Regions from separate parts of the Homo sapiens genome. Here region 1 is linked to region 2. The links are contacts of gene promoters, found by promoter capture Hi-C in blood cells and fetal thymus (Javierre and others, 2016). All regions are on one chromosome and are shown on one strand. Each heading gives the region's core, a stretch centred on a gene start or on the middle of the fragment in contact. The rest is flanking DNA. Distances are from core to core; before and after follow the strand shown.

Region 1 (5,832 bases), core at 434-2,933, 550 kb before region 2:
AAATAGTGCTTAGTTTTCCATTTGAGATACCCAATAATCTTTTTTGCTATTTCCAAATGTTCTAACCTTGGATTTTATAGGAATTTTTCCGAGAAGACTTTGTTATATTTTTTACCTTCATAGTGAAAGAAAACAGTATTTTTTCCTCTATCTTTTGCTCAGTTGATAGAGCCAAACTTTGGAGTAGGAGTCAGGGATAAAGCAAAGGAACTATAGTCAGGTACTGTATAGTAATGTTTTGGTCAACATTTGACCACATATATGACGGTGCTCCTATAAAATTATAATGAAATTGAAAAATTCCTATTTCCTAGTGACATCATAGCTGTCATAAGCCATCGTAATGTCATAATGCAATGCTTTAACTTTTCTATGTTTATATATATTTAGATAAACAAATACTTACCATTGTGTTACAATTGCCTGCCACATTCAGTACAGCAACATGCTGTATGGGTTTATAGCCTAGAAGCAATAGGCTATACCATGTAGCCTAAGTGTGTAGTAAGCTATGTTATCTAGGTTTAGTACAGCATAAGATGTTTACATAATGGTGAAATTGTGACGTATTTCTCAGATGTTCCTGTTAAGTGACACCTGACTGCACTTTAACATCATTCTTCCCATTTTCTCCAGAAACTTCTGAGAAACTCTAAGGGGCCATTAAATGAACACTTGATTCTAGCCACTGTCAGGGAGTTACCTATTAGGTGCTTTATCTATTTATGGAAGAATTGGTGATGGGCAGTAGGGGGCTATTGTTGATTTCTGGAATATGCACAGAGTATAAATATTTTAAGGTTCTGGGAACAGAAAATCCATTCTTCATTGACCTATGCCAAACAGCTCCCTGTGAAATGCATTTTGGAAACCACTGCAGAAACTTGAAAGATGAAGTTACATTCAGGATTTTCATCTAGATTTCAAGGTTGGGCCTTATCACTTTTGTTTCTAGGAAGGAAGATTCAGCAGATTTTGCTCCTATATTATCAGAGTTCTGAAAACACTTTGAGGACACCTCTGTATGCCCAGTCCAGGGAACTCTAAAGGCATTAGAGGGATAACATGTTTTGAGATGGGATAAAAGGCAAGAGAGATGACCTCTTCCTCTAGCAGTGGGCGAGCAGCTGGCTCTGCTTTTCACTGATTTTATGGCTTTGTCTGTGAAGGAACAGCAGTGTTCCACAGAGAGGCGCTTGACTGAGACAGTTGCTGTTACTGAGCAGAAGAGAGCCAGGGGGTGCAGTAAGATGTGGAAAGCATTGTTTCCTCTAAATGTGGGAAGAAATGAAAAACTTACAGGGGAGAAAAGACTGTAGTATACTTAAAAAAGAATACTTAAGTAGAATCTGAGGAGTGGATAATAGGTTGAAGGATATGTGCATATTATAATCAGTGTCATGTAGTTCCTGTAAATTAATTTCATAAAGCTTATATGGAAACAAGGTGACTTGGTAACATGGAAATCAATAATAAGTGAGAAGGGCAGGACATAAAATATGTGTACTGATATATACATACTAAAATGGGAAAAGAATATGAAAATATTAGCTTGGTGGATTTTTTTGTGATAGGGTTATGTGGGTGTTTTTTAAAAATGTAAAATATATTTGTTTGTTTGCTTGTTTTGAGACAAGGTCTCTGTTGCCCAGGCTGTAATGCAGTGGTGTGATCAGCTCACTGTAGCCTCTACCTCCCCAGCTCAAGCAATTTTCCCACTTCAGCCTTCGGAGTAGCTGGGACTACAGGTACCAGCCACCACACCTAAGTAATTGTTTAACTTTTTGTAGAGATGGAGTCTTGCTAAATTTCCTAGGCTAAATTGTTTCTATTTTGATTACTGTGTCCATAAAAATAATTTGATAATTTTAAAAAGCGAAACTAAAGAGGAAAAACATGTGTTTGCTTATTGCTGTAATTATTAGTTGCAAGCTTTCACATTTTACCTTTATGTATAACCCTGAAGTGTATTAAATAATATATGGTGTCAAATTACTTAGGTAATGGTAGGAAGCACCTACTATCCTGTGGCAAGATAATTTTTAGACTTGTTATTTGTGTTCTCTCCAAATTTCGGTTCCGTAGGGCTTTCAGGAATGTTGCAAGATTCAAAGAAGAAGCAACCACAATTCAAACGTTCTCCCGACCTCTTGTAAAAGCCGGAGAAGCGAGGAAACCCGGCATTGTTGAGGGTGGGAGAGCGGAGCTGCCAGCTGCTGGTCCCCTGGAGCTGGGGGTGGCGCGGCCGGGGTTTGGGGCGACCCTTTGGAGGAGATCGCCGGTCCCCCAGCGAGGTGTGGAGGATGAGAGCGCCTTAGGACCACCGCGAGCGACCACCCTGAAGAAGTCAGTGGAGGTCGTGACAGACTGCAAGCGAGACCCATTCCATTTCCATCTGTGCTGCAACAGCGGAGAAGGAGAGACGACACACGACCTAGATCACTCCGGGAGGGAGGGTCTGAATTAAGGTGATAGTCCGAGTTTGTGACCTGAGATTCATACTACAAACCCCGCGGAGAACAAGGAAGAGGACCGAGAGCTTTTGTCCCGTGCTTGTGAGCTGAAGCCAGGTGTTTGAAGTGTTTGATCTTCTAGAAAGCCCTTGCCCACCTAAAGTAATTGGGTACAGCTGAGGTTCTCAAACTTGAGCGTGCACCACAATCACCCGAGAGGTAATTAAAACCTGGAGTGCACTTTGGGATGCCGAGGCGGGCGGATCACGAGGTCAGGAGATAAAGACCATCCTTGGCTAACACGGTGAAACCCTGTCTCTACTAAAAATACAAAAAATTAGCCGGGCGTGGGGGCGGGCGCCTGTAGTCCCGGCTACTCGGGAGGCTGAGGTAGGAGAACGGCGTCAACCCGGGAGGCGGAGCTTGCAGTGAGCCGAGATCGCGCCACTGCACTCCAGCCTGGGCAACAGAGCGAGACTCCGTCTCAAAAAAACCCCAAAAACAACAACAACAAAAACACCTGGAGTGCTGGGGACCCCATTCCCAGAGTTTCTGATTCAGTGGGCCTGAGTTGGGGCCCGAGAATGTGCATCTCTAACAGGTTCTCAAGTGAAGCTGATGCTGCAAGTCCCGGAACGGTGCTTCGACAACTGGTGAATGCTATGCTTTTCAGATACTTTGATATCAAACTTTTGCATGGCTGCAGCTACCTAAAGTGGCGTGTCAGTTTTACCAGAGGTTACTTTTCACTTAATATTGGCTTGGTTTATTTTCAGATTTAAGAGTGGAGTGTGTTATTAGTAGATCCATTTACAAGGCTCATTTGGAGGAAGCTGTTCCGGTGCTTTCACTTACTTTATAGATGAACATAATTTTTGGAGATTTCCATGATATAGTTAAAACTATGTCTTGGTCATTTGTGTGACCTCTTTCAGTTTATGAAGTTTTCATCTATGTTACCTGGTTATGGTATTGCTCTTAACGTAAATATTTTAAAATATGTCTTTGTGTCTTTTTAGCAGCACTCCTATGAGGTAGAGCGATTGTTTTGCTTTTATGGTGTTAGTCACAGATCTAGGCTTAACTTCACATTGTTTCCCAGTGAGTATATGTGCAGGTAACATCATAAATGTTATAAAAAGGGTGTGGTTACTGCATAATGAGAGGAAAACCCAGGCAATACAAAGGAGTTTTAATTATATGACTCTCTGAGACTTCAAGTACGTAGGCCTGCCCAGCTTGCTTCCTGGGAACCCTCCTTCCTGATAAGCCTTCAATTGGAAAGAGAAAGAGGCCTCAGCCATAAAGGAAAACCTTTTTAGAGGGGTTCTGAGACCTAAAGGTCCAAGTTCTGGCATTCCCTGAAGCCACAAGGTTTCTCTGCCTCAAGGTTTCTCTGAAATCAGTTAGTGACAATCGAAGGCAGCCATGAAGAGGAAAAGTTAAAAATATGCAGACTATGTGGCCCTGGAGAAGAGGAGAGAAGCATTTTGATCCAGTTTGCTTCAGTTATAGGGAAGCTCCCAAGCTAACTAGATTGGTGGGATAGTACTTTTTATTTTATCTATACAATTTTTGTTATTGTGCTTGAACTTACATAGTAAAGTGAACAAATATTCAGTGTACAACTAAATGAATTCTTTAACATAGATGTATTCACAAACATACATACTCACACTCACTCTTGTACCCACCTTCCAGATTAAGATAATAGAGCATTCCCAAAACCACAAAAGGCTGCCTTATTCCTACTCCCAGCCAATACCCCAAAAGGTAACAGCTGCTGACTCTCTTGCCGTTGAATGGTTTTACCTGTTCCTGAACTTTGTATAAATGGAATCATACAGTATGTACTATTTTGTGTCTGGCTTCTTTCACTCAACACTATGTCTGTTAAATTCATCTACACTGTTGCCTGTAGCAAGAGTTTGTTCTTTTTCACCTCCAACCTGATCACCCCATTTCCCCAGCCCCAGGAAACCATTAATCCACTTTCTCTCTATAGATCTGTCTATTCTGAAAATTTCATATAAATGGAATCACAATATTTTGTCCTTGTGACTGGCTTCTTGGCATGTTTTCAAGGTTCATTCATGTTGTAGACTACATTAGTACCTCATTTCCTTTTATTGCTGAAAAATATTGAGTATACCACATTTTATTTATCCATTCATCAGCTGATGGGCATTTGGGTTGTTTCCACCTTTTGGCAATTGTGAATAATGCCGCAATGGACATTTGTATACAAGTTTTTGTGTGGACAGTGGAAATATGTTTTCATTTCTCTTGGGTATATATGTAAGAGTGAAACTGCTAGATCATGTGGTAACTATATTTAACTGGTTCAGGAGTTGTCAAACCATTTTCCAAAGCATCTGCACCGTTTTACATTCCCACCTGCCAAAGCCAGTCATTAGCATTGTTTCTATAGATATTAAATTAACTAAAAGTATCCCTTATGGGAAACGAAGGGATGGGCTGAATTAAAGGAATAGGTTGGGCTAGTTAACTGCAGCAGGAGCATGTCCTTAAGGCACAGATTGCTCATGCTATTGTTTGTGGCTTAAGAATGCCTTTAAGTGGTTTTCTGCCCTGGGCAGGCCAGGTGTTCCTTGCCCTCATTCCGGTAAACCCACAACCTTCCAGCATGGGCGTTATGGCCATCATGAACATGTCATAGTGCTGCAGAGATTTTGTTTATGGCCAGTTTTGGGGCCAGTTTACAGCCAGATTTTGAGGGGCTTGTTCCCAACACCCACCAGGAGTGTATGAGGATTCCAATTTACCCACATCTTCACCAAAGCTTGTTATCTGTCTTTTTTATTTTAGCCATCCTAGAAGGTGTGAGTGGTATCTTACTGTGGTTTTGGTGTACATTTTCCTGATGGCTAATGCTGTTGAGCATCTTTTTGTTTGCTCATTGGTTATTTGCATATCTTCTTTGGAGAATGTCTCTTTAGATCATTTGCCTGTTTTTAAAAAAATGGGTAGTTTGCCTTTTTATTATTGAATTGTAATAGTTTCTTATATATTCTAGATATAAGTCCCTTATCAAATATACAATTTGTCAAATTTTTATCTCATTCTGTGAATTTTCTCTTCACTTTATTTTTTAACTTTGATTAAATTAATTAATTCATTTAGAGACAGGGTCTTGCTCTGTTGCCCAGGCTGTAGTGCAGTGGCGCAATCATAGCTCATTGCAACCCCAAACTCCTGGGCTCAAGTGATCCTCCTGCCTTAGCCTCCCAAGTAGCTGGAACTACAGGTGTGTACCACCATACCTGGCTAACTAATCTTTTCACTTTTTTGATAGTGTCCTTTGATGCCCCAAATTTAAAAATTTTGATAATGTTTACCTTCTCTAATTTTTCTTTTG
Region 2 (6,132 bases), core at 3,505-6,004:
GGTTTATCAACAGATGAAACATAGTTGAACAGTGATATGGAATACACATCTGAGGAAATTACCCAGAATAGAGCACAGAGAGTAGTAAGATGAAAAAGATGAAAGAAGTTAAGAGATACGGAGAACAGAAGAGGAAACAGAAACATATGTATTCTGAACTCTAAGACAGTAAAGAGAACTGAGAAAAAGGAATTAATTGAAGAGATAGTAATTGAGAATTTTACAGAAGTGATGATAAATATAAATCTATTTTCCTAAGTAGAATAAAAGAAACCCAAATGTAGACACATCATAGTGAAACTGTAGAAGAGCAAACACAAAAAGGTTCCAAAGTAGCCAGAGGAAAAGAGACAAATCATCCATATGATACAACAGCAGTGACAAAAACCAAAATGAAATGGAATAACATCTTCAAAGTGTCCATTTTGCATTGTAGATCCAACCCATTGTCAGAGGATGAAAGTGATATAAATACATTTTCAGATAAACATAGTTTCTCACCAACAGACTGCTATTAAAGGAACTTCTAAAAGATGTACTTTAGAAAGAAAAATGATCATAGAATGATCTGAGATATGAAAAGGAATAGTAAGTAAATAAAATACAAACATGTAAGTACATATATATACACACATACATAAACATCTGTGTAAGAGTCTGGAGAGAGGTGTCCAGACTTAAAACATTCTAAGGTTTTTGGATTGTCTAGGGGTAGTGTTTAAGATATTTAACTTAAAACTTTATTGTATTAAATATGCAAGGCAAAAATTTAAGGGTAACACTAAGAAAAATTGGTAGCATAAATTTGAAAAAAAAAAAAGAATAAAACACACATGCCCGACATTTTTTTTAAAGGCAAGGAAGAAAAAAGCATAGAAAAAAAAAGAGACTAATAAAATTAGTTCAAACAAGTCCAAATGTATGTCAATAATTACAATGAATGTAAATGGAATAAACTTGCCAATTAAAGGTTATACTGCCATATTGGATAAAAAAACAAAATCCAGCTGCGTGAAGTTTATGAGACACAAAATAAAAAGGACAGAGAAAGGTTGAAAGAGAGGTGGGGAGCGAAAAGATATATAAGGTAAACACCAATAAAAAGAGAGCTGGGATGTTACCTTAATATTTGACAAAAATTTTAAGACAAAAAGCAGTATTGGTGATCAAGAGGGCAACTACTAAATAATAAAGAATAAATTCATCAGAAAGGAAAAATATAACAATTTAAATTTCCATTTTCCTAATAGCCTCAAAATATAAAAAGCAAAAATTCATAGAATTTCAGGGTAAAATGGCCAAATGCAGAATTATAAGTTCTCCTTGTTCTTTACTGTAAAAATCATACATAGTGAATACATTCAAAAGATATTTGTATTAGCTTGTGGGATTAAGGATTTTTCTCCATTTTCTAAACTTTATTGCTGTGATATTGATTTTATAATTCATATACTTTTTTCAGAAATGAACTATGCGGTGAAATTTTTAAATAACTGATGGTTAATTATGGTTTTACTAAATTTGGGGGTAATTACTGTGTATAGTTTTAGATCCTGCTCCCAATGATTATCAGGTTGTGTACATTTTAAAGATAATTTCTTGTTTGTGTTTTGCTAAAATTTCAAATGATTTTTACATGGACTCAAGTGGTTCAGACACCACTTGACTTACACATTAAAGAACGTGGCTTACTACACAGTTTCTGCTTTACTCAATAAGAATAAAATAATTCTGGAAAGAATGCATAATAATGCACTCCAAACTTAAATATGCTACTGATTGTTAATGGCTACATTATTCTGGCTATTTGTATCAACAACACAGCCACAACTTTTCTAAACTTCTGCCCAGATATTACAATTATCCTAGGGATTACTTACTCTCAGAAAAGTAGAGGAAGATACAAATTGGCAATTCTTTTTCTCACACTGATACTCCTTTGGACTTAAGTGAACCAATATTGTTATTACTAAAGCTCAGTATTCCACCTCTATTTATACTTTCTGAAACGTATAAGCAACACTTAGATGAAATAGGAAGGGATCACTGTACACAAATGGAAAATAAAGCAGCATGCAAGGAAGCTGGTTCTAAAGAAAACAAGCACAGGTGGCCGGGCATGGTGGCTCATGCCTGTAATCCCAGCACTTTGGGAGGCCGAGGCAGGCGAATAACGAGGTCAGGAGTTTGAGACCAGCCTGGCCAACATGGTGAAACCCCGTCTCTACAAAAAATACAAAAAATTAGCTGGGCGTAGTGGCGGGTGTCTGTAATCCCAGCTACTTTTGGGAGGCTGAGGCAGGAGAATCGCTTGAACCCAGGAAGCGGAGGTTGCAGTGAGCCGAGATCATGCCACTGCACTCCAGCCCTGGTGACGGAGTCTCATCTCAATAAACAAACAAACAAAAAAGCACAGGTTACTTTATTACAGTACTGAAAACCAAGACAGCACATGGACTCTCTTTGAATATATAACCTAAAAATTGAAACTGTAAAATTTAATCTATTATACAGAATTTTTTTCATAGTTGTTTAAATTTTACTGTTTGCAATTCTAGAAAAATAACATCATGTTGGAAAAGTAAGCAGTAATTTAAAATGAATTATATTTTGAAAAATATAGAAGAATGACAAGAATTCTAAATTTTTGTGAATATTTTACCCAAGAAATGTGTTTTAGAATCTTTTGAGATTTGAATTAGAAAATATTGTTGGTCAAATTCTTTCACTGTTTAAAGCCAACAATAAAAGAATAGGAAAAGAATGTAGTTATTTCCAACTCTGTGCTATAACAATAAGATAGTAACGTCTAGAAATTATATCTTAAAACCTTCAGAGTAAATTAATAAAAATTCAACATACTTCAAGTTATCACTGTATTTTTTCTATAATTACCTTTTCGTTTACTGTTTCAATTTATTGAATTATACATACAATGAAGAGCACAATAAATGTACATACAGCTTGATGAATTCTCACATAGTGAGCCTGTGTTACAAGTAATCTATTATTAACTTTTAAGATGATACAGTGCTATGATCGAAGGACTAAAATGATCAACATCACCATAAAAGGCAGAGTCATAAACAAGAACAATTAAGTGTAATTAAATCAGGTGGGAGGCACACTTACAAAAATGAAACAATTTTTGGTTCACATTTTACACCACACAGGTATTCTGTATCTTTAGAACATGAGAAAATACATATTCTCAGTCTGATAGGTCTCTGACTTGGGGGTTTCTTTTACTGTACTTTTTTTCTCTCTAGTAGCTGAACATTTTAAAGCAATCAGCAGAAAAAATATAAAACTTCAGAACCAATTAGACTTTTAAAAGCAACGTTCTTGCCCTTTCCAGAGATACATTCCTTAATCCTCCTACAAATCATGACCTCACACGATAACTTTAAGGGTGAACATCAACTTATCTACATTTTGGTGCTTTCTTTCCCTTAAGTGGCAGATGGTTTCTATTAACCTAAAATTGAAGTCATTGTTGGGGGACCCCTAATTCCATGTCTAGTCCTAGTGCCCAGAGGCTACCAAAGACGATACGAATAGCTTCTCAGGCACTCTACCCACCGTTTACCTTGTTAATACAAATCTTTCCCAGACCTGGGTCCCGAAATTATTTTACCCTGCAGAGCAGAAATGTTACGGTGTTCATTCAGTGAACTCTTCCCTAGTTTTTAATCTTTGTATTTTCTGCGTATACTTCAAGCCACCAGTAACTTTCCCAGTTACCAAGAAACAGTGTAACACAGGTCGCTATTTGTTTTGTTCGGAATTTACGAGCAATTTAACCACACGTGATTAGCAACATTAAGGGGGCTCCTCCAGGCAAAGAATCCACAGAATGAGAGGCCCTTGGTACCCAAATGAAGCAACAATGAAAGATCGGCGAAGCTCAGCAAGGTTCCTGAGCGCCACGGACGCCTGCTCTGATTTCAGGTTGCCGGCGCGCGCCCGCGGGTCTGCCTTTATGGACGAGGCGCAAGAGGGATCCAGGAAAGACGGTGCCCTTAGAGACTCGGAGATTAGCGTGGGCAACCCTGCCACCAGCTGCCCCTGCCACCAGCCGCCCCCACAACAAAAAGGAGGAAACGCTCCGCATCCCGTCACCAGGACAACTCTGTAACCCGACACCGAGGCTCAAGATTCCGCATCCCGGGCAGCGAACACAGGAGAAAAGCACATCGCGGCCCGGCCGCGGGGCTCCAAGGCGTCCGTGCCGCCGCTGTTCCTGGGGTGCCGAGAGCGACGCGGGGTCCACCCTCTCCGCCGGCCCGAGGTCCGAAGCTCGGCCCGCCACCGCTCCCGGCCGGCGCCTCCCGCACGTGGCGGCCGTGATTGTCCCGGGGCGGTATCCCTCCGCGCCCCCGCCTCAGTCTCCCCCCGCCCTTCCCGGGACCCTCCGTGCCCGGGCGCCGCGGAAGGATCGCACGCACGCGCGCGCGCACGCCCAGCCGTGTCCGCGGAAAACGGAGGGCGCTGCGGTAAGGAGCAGCCGCCACAGGCACAGCCGCTTCGCAGCCTCCCGCCGCTGGTTTGTCAGCCCCGCGGCTGCGGGCGGCCGGGCGGCCGAGCGCGCTCTGAGGTTCGTCCCTCATCGCTGAACCCGCGTCCTCCCGCCGCAGCTCCTCGGGGAGGGGGGCGGTCGGTGCCTGCGCAGAGCCGCCTCCTCCCCGCCCCCGCCCCGCCTCCCCCCGCGCCGCCGCCGCCCGCTACCGCCGCCGCCGCCGCTGCGCCTGCTGCTCCTCGCCGTCCGCGCTGCAGTGCGAAGGGCTCGAAGATGGCCGGTTGGCAGAGCTACGTGGATAACCTGATGTGCGATGGCTGCTGCCAGGAGGCCGCCATTGTCGGCTACTGCGACGCCAAATACGTCTGGGCAGCCACGGCCGGGGGCGTCTTTCAGAGCATTACGGTGAGGACCAGTGGCGGCCGGTACCCTGGTCCCTGCACCGGAGCGGGGTGGCCGGCCGCGGGGGCACCGCAGCGCGGGGCTGGAACACTGAGGGCCGAGCCCGCAGGTGTGCTAGGCAGCGGGCGCCGAGGATGCGGCTGCCGGGCGGGCGGGGAGGCCGAGGCCCGGGGACGCCCCCTCACCCGGGGCTGCGCTGACAGGCTGGGGGCGGCGGCCGGACTCCTTGCTGGCCCTGGCCGGGCGCCCCCGGCGTTCCCAGCGTCGGTCCAGGTGCCCGGGTTGGGGGAGGGGGCACGCACCGGCCAGGGCAAGGGGAGGGGTTCCTTTTTTCCTCCTAGTGCGGTTCCCCTAGGTTCTCTTGAAGCCCTGAGGTTTGCTATGCACGTTCTGGGGTGGAAGCGGGGGTCGGGGATCCGGGCTGGGGCGCGCGGGCCCCGGGTGGAGGTCCCTAGGCTCTCTGGCCGGCTCTTGCTCCGCGGACAGCGCGCCTCCCGCGCCTCCGGCTGTGGGAGGCGGCGGCCCCGGCCCGGCCCCCGGGATTCTCGAAGCGACTTTGCGTAGGTTTACCGATGTCCAGGCCTCTGGGGCTTGCGAGAGATGTACGCCGACCGCGTAGGTGGATTCGTGAATCTCGACTTCAGCTCTAGCTCTATAGGTTGTTTTTTTTTTTTTTTTAAATTCTCCAAGATGGCGAACTGCCATTGATTTCTCTTCTCATATGGAGATTCATCGATATACGGTTATCCCCAGTTATGCAACATAGCTCAAAAAAGGGGTGCTTTTCGGGGGCTTTCAATTATCTGCGAAGACCAGGAGCACACTTCACTTCTCTAAGTCCCTCCCTCTTTAGTGGTGGCAGTAAAGGAACTAATGCAGTTTTATGCTTCACATTGCCTGATTTTCTTGAGACTTGATGGTTTTGAGTTGGTTGCAATATGTTTGGAGAATATTTGCCACAAAACCTCCAGCTTATTGTTTTGCCTGTTTCTGCCCAAGGCTGTTTCTAAAATTATGATAATTGTACTAAATACGAGACCATTCTCTTTATTTCTTAGCACCACGCTCCCTTTCCATTAAGCACCAAAATTCAGGTCCCCTATTAAGGGTGCTAATTATTCTTTTACCACTTAACATGGTTTAAAGTCTAACTTTAGAACTCAGTCCTTGATAGTAGTACTTTAAGGTCTCGTATACCCGCAGTGGACTAC

Evidence for each region. Contacts are between HindIII fragments. The CHiCAGO score rates a contact against its expected background, and 5 or more counts as called.
Region 1: a contact is called between a fragment that was not itself captured here and the fragment with the promoter of PFN2 in region 2, in 3 of 17 cell types (M1 macrophages, megakaryocytes and endothelial precursors). The highest score is 7.6, in M1 macrophages.

The regions. Positions count from the first base shown.
Region 1 is chr3:150,517,014-150,522,845 of GRCh38, reverse strand. No RefSeq gene overlaps it. Among named protein-coding and RNA genes, the nearest start is that of SERP1, 27 kb to the left of the region's middle. RefSeq lists enhancers at 1,748-2,248, 2,249-2,749. The HindIII fragment of the contact is 502 bases long and covers 1,433-1,934 here.
Region 2 is chr3:149,969,517-149,975,648 of GRCh38, reverse strand. PFN2 (profilin 2) reads left to right here and starts at 4,754. Exons shown (of 3, transcript NM_053024.4): 1 at 4,754-4,924. The coding sequence starts at 4,793. It overlaps LOC646903 (a long non-coding RNA gene), which reads right to left and starts at 4,370. Exons shown (of 1, transcript NR_036538.1): 1 at 2,407-4,370. RefSeq lists enhancers at 3,491-4,021, 4,022-4,553 and silencers at 4,399-4,458, 4,689-4,768, 4,979-5,218, 5,229-5,278, 5,299-5,558. The HindIII fragment of the contact is 10,546 bases long and covers 1-6,132 here.